Linked DNA regions of Homo sapiens: regions 1, 2 and 3 are each linked to region 4. The links are contacts of gene promoters, found by promoter capture Hi-C in human tissues and cell types (Jung and others, 2019). All regions are on one chromosome and are shown on one strand. The core of a region is centred on a gene start or on the middle of the fragment in contact, and the rest is flanking DNA. Distances in the headings are between cores, read along the strand shown.

What was found. Contacts are between HindIII fragments. The study calls those that stand out against the background at their distance.
Region 1: a contact is called between a fragment that was not itself captured here and the fragment with the promoter of APH1B in region 4, in 5 of the 25 tissues and cell types used here (IMR-90 fibroblasts, bladder, lymphoblastoid cells and 2 more).
Region 2: a contact is called between a fragment that was not itself captured here and the fragment with the promoter of APH1B in region 4, in 4 of the 25 tissues and cell types used here (heart right ventricle, ovary, small bowel and 1 more).
Region 3: a contact is called between a fragment that was not itself captured here and the fragment with the promoter of APH1B in region 4, in 2 of the 25 tissues and cell types used here (H1 embryonic stem cells and mesenchymal stem cells).

What each region holds. Positions count from the first base shown.
Region 1 is chr15:63,240,827-63,243,608 of GRCh38, reverse strand. All of the region lies in intron 1 of RAB8B (RAB8B, member RAS oncogene family), which reads right to left. Among named protein-coding and RNA genes, the nearest start is that of APH1B, 35 kb to the left of the region's middle. The HindIII fragment of the contact is 3,635 bases long and covers 1-2,782 here.
Region 2 is chr15:63,310,121-63,312,820 of GRCh38, reverse strand. No RefSeq gene overlaps it. Among named protein-coding and RNA genes, the nearest start is that of APH1B, 34 kb to the right of the region's middle. The HindIII fragment of the contact is 5,043 bases long and covers 1-2,700 here.
Region 3 is chr15:63,326,542-63,329,241 of GRCh38, reverse strand. CA12 (carbonic anhydrase 12) reads left to right here. Exons shown (of 11, transcript NM_001218.5): 9 at 1,112-1,144; 10 at 2,009-2,093. All of the region lies in intron 1 of LOC124903506 (a long non-coding RNA gene), which reads right to left. Among named protein-coding and RNA genes, the nearest start is that of APH1B, 50 kb to the right of the region's middle. The HindIII fragment of the contact is 3,476 bases long and covers 1-2,700 here.
Region 4 is chr15:63,276,166-63,278,865 of GRCh38, reverse strand. APH1B (aph-1B gamma-secretase subunit) reads right to left here and starts at 1,261. Exons shown (of 6, transcript NM_031301.4): 1 at 1,130-1,261. The coding sequence starts at 1,242. It overlaps LOC124903504 (a long non-coding RNA gene), which reads right to left. Exons shown (of 2, transcript XR_007064674.1): 2 at 2,014-2,700. RefSeq lists silencers at 955-1,234, 1,315-1,734. The HindIII fragment of the contact is 12,664 bases long and covers 1-2,700 here.

The sequences.
Region 1 (2,782 bases), core at 65-2,564, 35 kb after region 4:
GAAGCCAAAAGTTTTGGCTTTCAAAGGGCTATGCCTTTTGAAGGCCTCGGGCACTTCAAAAGTTCAACCCTTCCCTCACGTATTTCCCCCCACTATGGTAGCTCAAAACTTATTTATCAATTTCAAAGACAAAGAACCACAAAGCCCTTGACAAATATCAGCAAGCTCTATCATATATCAGGAATAAGCTTTCTGAGGAGACCAGTTAGTGAATACAACTTAGTTGCAATTTGCTAAATCGTCATCATCTGGCTACTCAGCTTTGTTTAGATTTTTCTATTCTTTTGCATTCTGTCCAGCAGGGTTTCTCAATCCCTGGGCCACAGACCAGTACTGGGCTGCACAGCAGGAATTCAGTGGCAGGCAAGTGAGAGAAGCTTCATCTATATTTACAGCTGCTCCCCATTACTTGCATTGCTGCCTAAGTTCAGCCTCCTGTCAGATCAGCAGTGGCATTAGATTCTCATAGGTGCTCAAACCCTATTGTGAACTGCCCATGTGGGGGATCTAGGTTGTGCACTCCTATGAGAATCTAATGCCTGATGATCTGTCACTGTCTTCTATCATCCCCAGATAGGACCATCTTGTTGCAGGAAAACATGCTCACAGCTCCCGCTGATTCTACATTGGTGAGTTGTATAATAATTTCATTATATATTACAATGTAATAAAAATAGAATATAAGTGCATAATAAATGTAATGTGCTTGAATCATTCCTAAACCACCCCCACCCCCACACCACCACCACCTCCAGTCCCTGGAGGAAAAACTGTCTTCCATGAAACCAGTCCCTGGTGACAAAAAGGTTGGGGACCACTGCTATATAGAACCCCTTAAAGTGGTTTCCAAGAAATTTCAGGAAAACACGTAAATTACATATCCTCTAAATTGACTTAAACATTAACTCCAGTTTTGTTTTGTTTTGTTTTTTGAGACAGAGTCTCACTCTGTCACCAGGCTGGAGTGCAGTGGAGCAATCTCAGCTCACTGCAACCTCCACCTCCCAGGTTCAAGTGATTCTCCCGCCTCAGCCTCCCGAGTAGCTGGGACTACAGGTATGCACCATCACGCCCAGATAATTTTTTGTATTTTTAGTGGAGACGGGGTTTCACCATGTTGGCCAGGGTGGTCTCAATCTCCTGACCGACCTCGTGATCCACCCGCCTCGGCCTCCCAAAGTGTTAGGATTATAGGCGTGAGCCACCCAGCCAACTCCAGTTTTATTTAGGTGGGGAGCATTCAACTGCTATGTTACTACAGTATTTTTTCATATAAACATTGAAAGCACCCAAAAGGCTGCTTCCTAGCTCCAGCTTTATACAATGCATAGACATAAACCAACCGAATTTCCTCCTTTTTTCTCTGTGTGGTACTTTTCCCCCACGGAGCCTTTTTAGATACTCTTGTGTCTTGAAATAGGCAACAATCACACCCAAGCTAATTTAGCAGAACACCTTCTCAACCATTATTTCCCCTCACTAACAACCATAAATTATTAATAAATATTAGGTTGCTGCAAAAGTAATTGCCATTAAGAATGGCAAAAACCGCAATTACTTTTGCAGCAACCTAATGCAATCTGATAACCACTATTCCCAAGTTATCTGGCTCATATTTTCTCCTCTAAGGCACCTCCCTCAGCATTTCAGGGTCTGTAAAGGTGACACAAAACTCAGCAACTCAGCATAAATATTACTGCTAGCATCTGACAAAATATACTGTTTCCATCACTCATTTAAGACTTAATAGACATTGATTTTTATTGTGATTTACGTTTTATATGCCACCAAATCCAGTGTAACAAAGACCCTCTAGGAATCCTCCTCTATCCTTTACCTCTCTTTGGGCCTGGCATCAAGAACAATGCCCAAAACCTGGTATGTACTCAATACATGTTTCTTCAGATTAACATTTTAAAAAAATTCATGACTTTCCAAATCCATAGAAACAGAAAGTAGTACAATGGTAGTTACCAGGATCTGGAAGGAGGGGGAAAGGAATAGTTGTTTAATAGGTATGGAGTGTCAGATTTGCAAGATGAAATAGTTCTACGGATCAGTTGCACCACAGTGTGAACAGGCTTGTAAAACTACTGAACTGTACACTGAAAAATGGTTAAGACTGTAACTTACATATTATGTTTTTACCAAAATAAAAAAAACAATGACTTTCAAAATGCCTACTGTATACCTGAATAAATTAATTAAAAGGCCAATGTCCAACATTTTACCACTTAATAATTCATTCACTTATTTTTTTTGAGATGGGTCTCCTTCTGTTGTGCAGGCTGGAGTGCAGTGGCGCGATCTTGGCTCACCGCAACCTTCGCCTCTTGGGTTCAAGCGATTCTCCTGCCTCCTGCCTCAGCCTCGCGACTAGCTGGGATTACAGTGTGCTCCACTACACCCAGTTAACTTTGGTATTTTCAGTAGAGATGGGGTTTCACCATGTTGACCAGGCTGGTCTCAAATTCCTGGCCTCATGTGATCCACCTGCCTTAGCCTCTCAAAGTGCTGGGATTACAGGTGTGAGCTAGCCTGCCCAACCTTCATTCACGTTTTAAATAAACGACGATGTATACCAGAATATTTGTTCAGATTAATATTTTCCTTATTCTGGCTTATTAAAGTAGTAACGCCTGTTCTTATTAAGGTTGATTTTGCCTGTAATTAGAAGTCATGGGCAACTTTACCACCTTCACTCAATAATGCCAATTTGAGGCTCCTTAAAGCCTCACTCTCCATTCATTTAAAACACTTCAAAAACCTTCTACTGACAGAG
Region 2 (2,700 bases), core at 52-2,551, 34 kb before region 4:
GAGGATGTCCAGTTAGCTCTAACATATAAAGAGCTTGGAAGCCATCACTCCCATCCTTACAAGAAAAAGCTAAGCAAATGGAAAAATCAACAATTCTTTTGAACCCATCAGAGAACTGAGGTCTCAGGGTAAACCACCACTCCAAAATCTGGAGAGAGAGGTGAATCCAGAGTCACAGCTGAGATTTGCTTACCTGGAGTGCAAGCTGCTGGAGCCATAAACTGGTAGTAACACTTAAATGCTAATGTTGACAAATTGCTGGAGTCTGAGTATGGACTAGTGTAAGGGTGAGAAATACTGTCTTCATTGTAAAATACATCCAGAGTGTTTTCCACAACAAAAGCCTCTCTCCAAGGAAAAAGACTTTACCAAAGCCGTAACCCAGCTGGGGAAAGTTACCTTTCTTCTCCAGCCACCTTCTAGCTTCCTGTCTTATCTAAGGGGGAAAAAGTTAAGAAACTCTCAGCCCAGGGATTCAGGCCCATGAAAATACTGAGATTTAGATTTTATTATTATAATTTTATTATTATACATGTCCCCTCCTCCACATCGCACTGCCATACCAACAGGGCTCTAGTGTTAATTTACAGTGGATTACAGCTGAACGAGTTGCAAGACACAGGCTTTCTCTGAAAAGGGGCACTGAGGGAACTCCACAGTCAAAAGGGGAGACAAAAACAAGACCACCAGAGGAATTCGAAGCCTCTGGCACTAACAGCCACAGCAAACATTAAATATAATCCAACTCCTACCTAGATTAACATAAAATTTACACTCAAGGCTTTTAAAATTCAGTTCCTATTACCCAAGAGGCGATGTCTAGCTTTCAACAAATAATTACAAGGCATATTAAGAGGCAAGAAAAAACAAAGTCTGCAGACATAGAAGGATATGCAGATTTTCTTTTCTTTTTTTTTTTTTTTTTTTGAGACGGAGTTTCACTCTTGTTGCCCAGGCTGCAGTGCAATGGTGTTATCTCAGCTCACCGCAACCTCCGCCTTCTGGGTTCAAGTGATTCTTCTGCCTCAACCTCCCAAGTAGCTGGGATTACAGGTGCCCATCACCACGCCTGGTTTATTTTTTGTATTTTTAGTAGAGATGGGGTTTCACTATGTTGGCCAGGCTGGTTTCAAACTCCTGACCTCAGGTGATCCACCCACCTCGGCCTCTCGAGTGAATTTTGTGGGTTTTTTTAAAAAAGGAATTTGTCCATTTACGTTTTAAAATTTATTGGCATTAAAGTTATCCATACTATCCTTTATTAATTTAATAATGTAGGGCCTATAGTGACGTCTCCTGTCATTACTGATACTTGTGCCTTCTCTTTTTTCCATCTGGCCAGAGCTTTACCAGCTTTATTGGTTTTTTTCAAAGAACCAGATTTTTGTTTCATTTTTCCCCATTGTTTTACTGCTATTTATTTGGTTCCTGTTCTTTTATGATTTCATTTCTTCTCCTTATATTAGCTTTAGTTTGCTCTTCTTTATCGAGTTTCTTAAGTAGAGGCTTAGGTCATTGATTTTGAATATTTTTCCTTACCTAATATAAGCATTTAACGTTAAGAATTTCCCTCTCTTGGCCAGGCACAGTACTCATGCCTGTAATCCCAGCACTTTGGGAGGCTGAGGTGGGCAGATCACTTGAGGCCAAGAGTTCAAGACCAGCCTGGCCAACGTGGTGAAACCCCGTCTCTACTACAAATACAAAAATTAGGTGGGCATGGTGGTGCGCACCTGTAGTCCCAGCTACTCGGGAGGCTGAGGCAGGAGAATCGCTTGAACCTGGAAGGCAGAGGTTGCAGTGAGCTGAGATCATGCCACTGCACCCCAGCTTGGTGACAGAGCGAGATTCTGTCTCAAAAAAAAAAAAATCAAAATAAATAAATAAAAGAATTTCCCTCTCTATTCCCTCTTTCAGGTCTTTGCTTTGGCAACTATCCTATCCCTCTCCTACGTCATTTTTTCCTTTCTATGGAGTCATTCTTATCTTAACATAAACATGCAGTTACAGTTACAGTCTACATCATAAGGAAAAAAAGAAAAAAAAACTCTCTTTCCCCCACATCCTCCTTAGGTTCATCATCCCACTGCTCTACAATACCTGTGTTCTCAATGCTGTGTCTACTTCCTCATCTCCTGTTCCGTACAATCCATTCTATTCAGGTGTTCACTCTGATTTCCATCTTGTTTTTATCAAGATCACCAGCAAGTTCCATCTCTCCATACAAAACAATCAATTCTCTCTCCTCTTCTTACCCATTATCCAGCAGCATTTGACATCCTTTCCCCACTGGCTGTCAAGCCACTGCACTCCTTTGGTTTTCCTTCCTTCTTCTCTCCTTTCCAACCTTTCAATTGACTGCCCCCAGGGTTCAGTCCTCAGCTATCACCTATCTATATCCACTACCCAGTGCCCTTCATCCACTTCTAAATTAAGCATCATCTTAGTAGTCAAGCTATTCTATATTATTCCATAATTTGTAGTGCATTTTGTAGTTGCCTTAAAATAATACTTAGGTGTTTTAATCTGTGCAGTTAGATTATATGTTTTCCAAGGACAAAGATCCCCACCATCTCGTTCTTTTCCATCCTTTTGAAGTGCCTAAGCAGTATTCTGTGCATGGTAAGCCCTGAATAAGCACTGTAAACTTCATCTGATTTTGTGCAAGCTCTAAAAAATGTGTAATTTTACTAGTAGCTA
Region 3 (2,700 bases), core at 47-2,546, 50 kb before region 4:
CATGGAGCAGAGAAGTGGGGCTGATGTGGTGAAGGCGTTTGTCCAGGAGGGACAAAGCAAAAATAGAACCAAACCATGATGACAAGCTGATGGGCTGGGGGAGAAGTCTGGTGATGGATTCCTTGCTTAGGAAGTGAGGCAGGTACCAGGGACATGGACAGGAGCCTGCCCAAGCAGGCTTTGATCCCTACCTTTCTTCATCTTTCCTCTTTGGCCATGTTGTATTAAAAACTGAAATCTTGGCTGGGCGCCGTGGCTCACACCTGTAATCCCCATAGTTTGGGAGGCCGAGGCAGGTGGATCACTTGAGATCAGGAGTTCGAGACCAGCCTGGTCAACATGGCAAAACCCCATCTCTACTAAAAATACAAAAATTAGCCAAGCGTTGTGGTGCACGCCTGCAGTCCCAGCTGCTCGGGAGGCTGAGGCATGAGAATTGCTTGAACCCAGGAGGTGGAGGTTGCAGTGAGCCAAGATTGTGCCACTGCACTCCAGCATGTGTGACAGAGCGAGACTCTGTCTCAAAAAAAACACAAACAAACAAACAAACAAAAACTCAAGTGAAGTCTTGCCCTAGCCAGGAAACTGTTGTGATAAAGGAGCATCGGGGCCGGGCGCAGGGGCTCACGCCTATAATCCCAACACTTTGGAAGGCCAAGGCAGGTGGATAATGAGGTCAGGAGTTCAAGACCAGCCTGGCCAAGATGGTGAAACCCTGTCTCTACTAAAAATCCAAAAATTAGCTGGGTGTGGTGGCAGGTGCTTGTAATCCCAGCTACTTGGGAGACTGAGGCAGAGAATTGCTTGAACCCAGGAGGCGGAGGTTGAAGTGAGCCAAGATCGCACCACTGCATTCCAGCCTGGGCGGCAGAGCGAGATTCCATCTCAAAAAAAAAAAAAAAAGGAGCATCGGAAGGAGGGATTGCAGTATGAATTCCCTAGATGGGCAATTTCCTGTACTTCATCAGGCAATCCCTGAGCCAAGGGTGGACATCCCTAGAGGTCTGTCAGCCTAAGACCAAACAAATGGTAGAGCGTCTCTCAACACGCTGCTCAAATCCAGTGTGGTTTGACTCTAGAGTAACCTCGTCTTTTCCTCTCCCCTTTTAAGTGCAAGTCTGTACTGCGGCAGGACTGAGTCTGGGTATGTGGCTGGGCAGCCAGCCGTGCATGCTGCAGCTGGGTGATCACTGTGATTCTTGGTGTGATCCAAGCCCGTCCTCTCTGCTTCTCTGTACTATTGCTCTGGCTCCTGGCCCTCTCCTTGCTATGGGTCTTACCCTCAAGTCGCTCTGTGATTCAAAGATGAACTGCCAATCAAATGTTCCTCTAATGAAAGATCCAATCACTCTACAGCATGTGTGTATTCAAAGAACCTATCTAAGACTTTCTTTTGGTCATGGTGGGAGGCTGTTGCTGAAAACATACCAGAGCCCATTGTGGAGGTCAGCTGACAGGCCGCATGACCTTGGCAATGGACTACTGGTCATCTGGGACTGCTTAGGACTGTGCAATGGAACTTGGGGGCAAAACTGATGGAGACAGCCAATGGGCCTTAAATCCAGCAGGCAAAGACAGAGTAAGTTCTTATTTGTGTAGCCCAGGGCTTATCAAAGTGTGGTTCTTGGACCACGTGCATCAGTATCAGCTGTAAGTATTTGGCAAAATGCAGATTCCCGGGCCCTGCACCAAACAGATTGACTTTGAATCTCTGGGGGTTGGGCTAAAAAAAAAAAAAAAACCCTACATTTTAAACAAGCTCTTCAGATGACCCTTGTGTAAGTTTGAGAGCATCTGCTGGAAAACCACTAGAATTTGCAAACGGCCACCTCAAAATACTCCAGCCAGTCCCACTAAGCCAAAGACCAGAATCTGAGAACAGGGATGGGGAAATTATTCCTTTCTGTGGATGATTATGCAGCTGGGCCATGATTTCACACCCGGGGGCCATGGGCTAAGATGGAGGGGAAGGAAGGAATGTAATGTGTGCCCTCTACCTCTTCACCAGGCATCATCCTCTCACTGGCCCTGGCTGGCATTCTTGGCATCTGTATTGTGGTGGTGGTGTCCATTTGGCTTTTCAGAAGGAAGAGGTGAGCTGGTTTGGGTCCAAAATGGGAATGGACAGCTATGTGTCCATGATGATTAGTCTGCCTGGGAAGGCAGCTTTGTGGCATGAAGAGCCGCAGTCACCTGGACCACCACTTACCCTAGGAGGGCCGTCCCCAAAGCACCCGTGCCCTGGCCTCCTTTGCATGAGACGCACATGTGACCCTGGTCGTTCAAAGGGTTCAGGGGTCACTGTGCTCAGATTTGGAAGCGTGTGTGCCTTGCTTGCTGCTATTGCATGGCCTTGGACGAGTCTCTTGACTTGGGGCTTGTGCCTGAAGTTAAGCAGCCAGGCTGTCTTCTTATCAAGATCTTTACATATGCTTTTTGGTCTATGAATTCAAAAAGAAAGATGAAGGAAAACCTGATCTCTCACTCACATTAACTCTTCATGCCCTTTGTCCATGTTTTTATTGTGACATTTGGCTTTTCCTAAAACCTAATTTATTTGGGGGGGGTATGAAAAATAAAAAGGTTTCTGGGAACCCTGTTATGGAATCAGAGGTTTGAAGAGGGGGGTGACAACGAGACCTCTTTCAAAATATAGGTCTACTACTGTTAGGTGTGAAAGAGAACAGTTGGAAAACGAAC
Region 4 (2,700 bases), core at 12-2,511:
TAGAAACTTGGTTATTTGCTACTCTTTCTAATCAATGCTCTGCCCATTGATGAGCCAAAACAAGAAAATACACAACCCTGATTACTGCAATTTTCATATTCTTAAAACTTACAAGAAATTATGGATTTACTGATCAGATATCTGCAAAGATGAGTATCTTTTCCAGAAAAATATCTACATCTCTATTAATAAAGTGACTGGTATAAAATTCAACTTGAAAACCTGTGTTCTGATCTGGATCAGTATCCAAGCCCTCCAGGTCTTACAGCACCCCTGGGGATTCTAATGATTATAGCAAGCTTTACAGACCCTTCCCAAATCTCTATTATTTTTAAAATGACATGCAGCGAAGCACTTTCAATACGTTTGTGGGAGGTGAAGAAACGCAGAAAAGCGGGAATCATTGGCCTAGTCTGGTGCCAAGAGAGACTCATCAGAGGAGGGGGGATGTGGTATGTGCAAGTAAGAGGCAGGTGATGACTGCGATGGGACACCAGAGTCCGGTATTTACCAAGCTCCCAGAAGGAGACGCACAGTCAGGTGCTTCGGTGTTTTTACAGGTTTCCACCCTTCGGCTGCACAACGGAACCATCCAAAAGGAGCTTAAATTTTTTTTTTTTTTTCTGAAGCCCGAATCCCATCCCCTAGACATTCTGATTCAATGGATCGGGGTGGGGGTGGGCATCGGCATGTTTTAAAGCACCTGGCCACAGGTGATTCTAATAGGCGGAAGTCGCGCACTACTATCCTAAACGCCAATGGTTTTTAACCCTTTGGGGATTACACATGCCTTTGAGAATCTGAGGGAAATTAGGGACTCCCCCTCCAGAAAATGAAGGATGCATATATGAACTTATCCATAATTTTTTTATACAACTTTAGTAGCTTCACGGATCACTAAACCCCACCCATGAGCCCCAGGCAAAAGGCCCTGACCCCCAGTGTGCGCTTCTTCCTAAGAGGGCGAGGCGCCTTTGGGGAGCCGGATCTCCGCTCTCCCCCTCTCAACCCTCCTCCCGTCTGAAACGCAACAAGGTCGAGCCGCGCGGTGGGGGCGCCGAGGGTCGCGGGTAACCCCAGCGGGGGAGGGGAGCCCCGGCGTCCGGGTTTCCCGACGCGACCGCCTCACCCGGCGATGAGGAAGATGATACGCAACGGCTCGGTGGCGATGGTGAAGACATAAAGGGCGAGCGCAGGCCCGAAGGCAATGAAGGCGCAGCCGAAGAACACGGCCGCAGTCATGGCCACCGCGGAAACCGACCCGGGGGCCCGTTGGGGACGCGAGATGCTCCCGGCGCGGGCGGGGTTCGGTGGGTGGGGCTCGGGGTGGGGGGCTAAGCGGGACGCGGGGGGCGGGGCGCGGCTCATGGGCAGGCACGGGGACGGGGGCGGGGCTCGGGGGCGGGGCACGTGGGGGCGGGGGCGGGGCTCGGAGGCGGGGTACGTGGGTCGCGGGGCGAGGCGGGGCGTGGGGGTAAACGCTAGGGCCTGGGGGACTGGGCGGGGCGTGGGCTGAGGGCGCCGGGCGCAGGGGCGGGCTCAAGGCGGTGAGCGCGGACCCCACCGTTGGGCCCTCCGCCCTACCGGGTGTCCGGAAGCGCCAGGGCCACGCCGCAGCTCCTGCTCCCGAGGCGGGCGTCCTCGGCGACGTTAGGGCCCCAGCCATCGCCGCAGCCCCACAGATACACTCCGATCGGGTTCCAGTGCCGGCCGCGAGGTGGTTAAGAGAAGGGAAGCTCCCTAGCCCACCTTCGAGCCGCATGCACCGAGAACAGGCAGAGATTCCAAGTCAACCAAAGAGACTAAACAAAAATGTAGCGCAGGAACAAGCAGGATTCCTTTTTAAATAGGTTTTTTTTTTTTTTTAAGCACATTTTACCGTTTGGATAGTTGCGGGAACTTCGTACTCCATCCTGTATAAAACCTAGGCTGGGATAGCAGTGACCCCGGGGATAACCCACAGATGGTAAAATGATGAAAGAGTGGTGGAAGAAGCTGCCCTTCTCAGGGCTGTTTCAGCCAAATGGTTTTTATTTTTTTCCCAATTCTTCAAAAGGGTTGTTTTTGCAGGCATTCTGTGACCACCCTACAAGCAATAGTAACATCTCCCTGCTCCGTCTTCTCACAGTCGTCCATTTCACTTGCTTATTTTTCTTCCCCGTTAAAACGCGAACTCCTGGGGGACAGGGACTTTGCTTTGCTCTTTGTTGTTTCCTCAGCACCTAGAAGTTCACTAATATCTGTTCAATAAGTGAAATAATTTAAAAGGTGGAAGTTATAAACATCTATATTAACAATTTCTGAAAGGTTTAAAAATTAAAACTTAAGTTCTCTGATCATTCACATCCAAGTTAGATTTTTCTTTATGTTGAATAATACTTCGTCGGTTATTTTGATCAGTGTGCCTGACACAGGTAAGTGCTATGTAAGTATTAACCACTCCTACATAATGTCCATCATGAATAAAGATTTTGGCAATCCACATTTAAAAAAACACCAGTAGACAAATGTTGGGACCTGACAGATGTTTTGCAGCTCGCCCCTGAAAATGCACCTTCAAATAATACAACTGCAGGTATTTAATTCTTACAGAAAAACATTACCTTTGCCCATTTAAAAGTCATATATATTTCCATTCACTCCCACAGAATACTTCTTCAGATTCCAGTGATTGTATTTTGAATGGTCAGATCCCAGCAC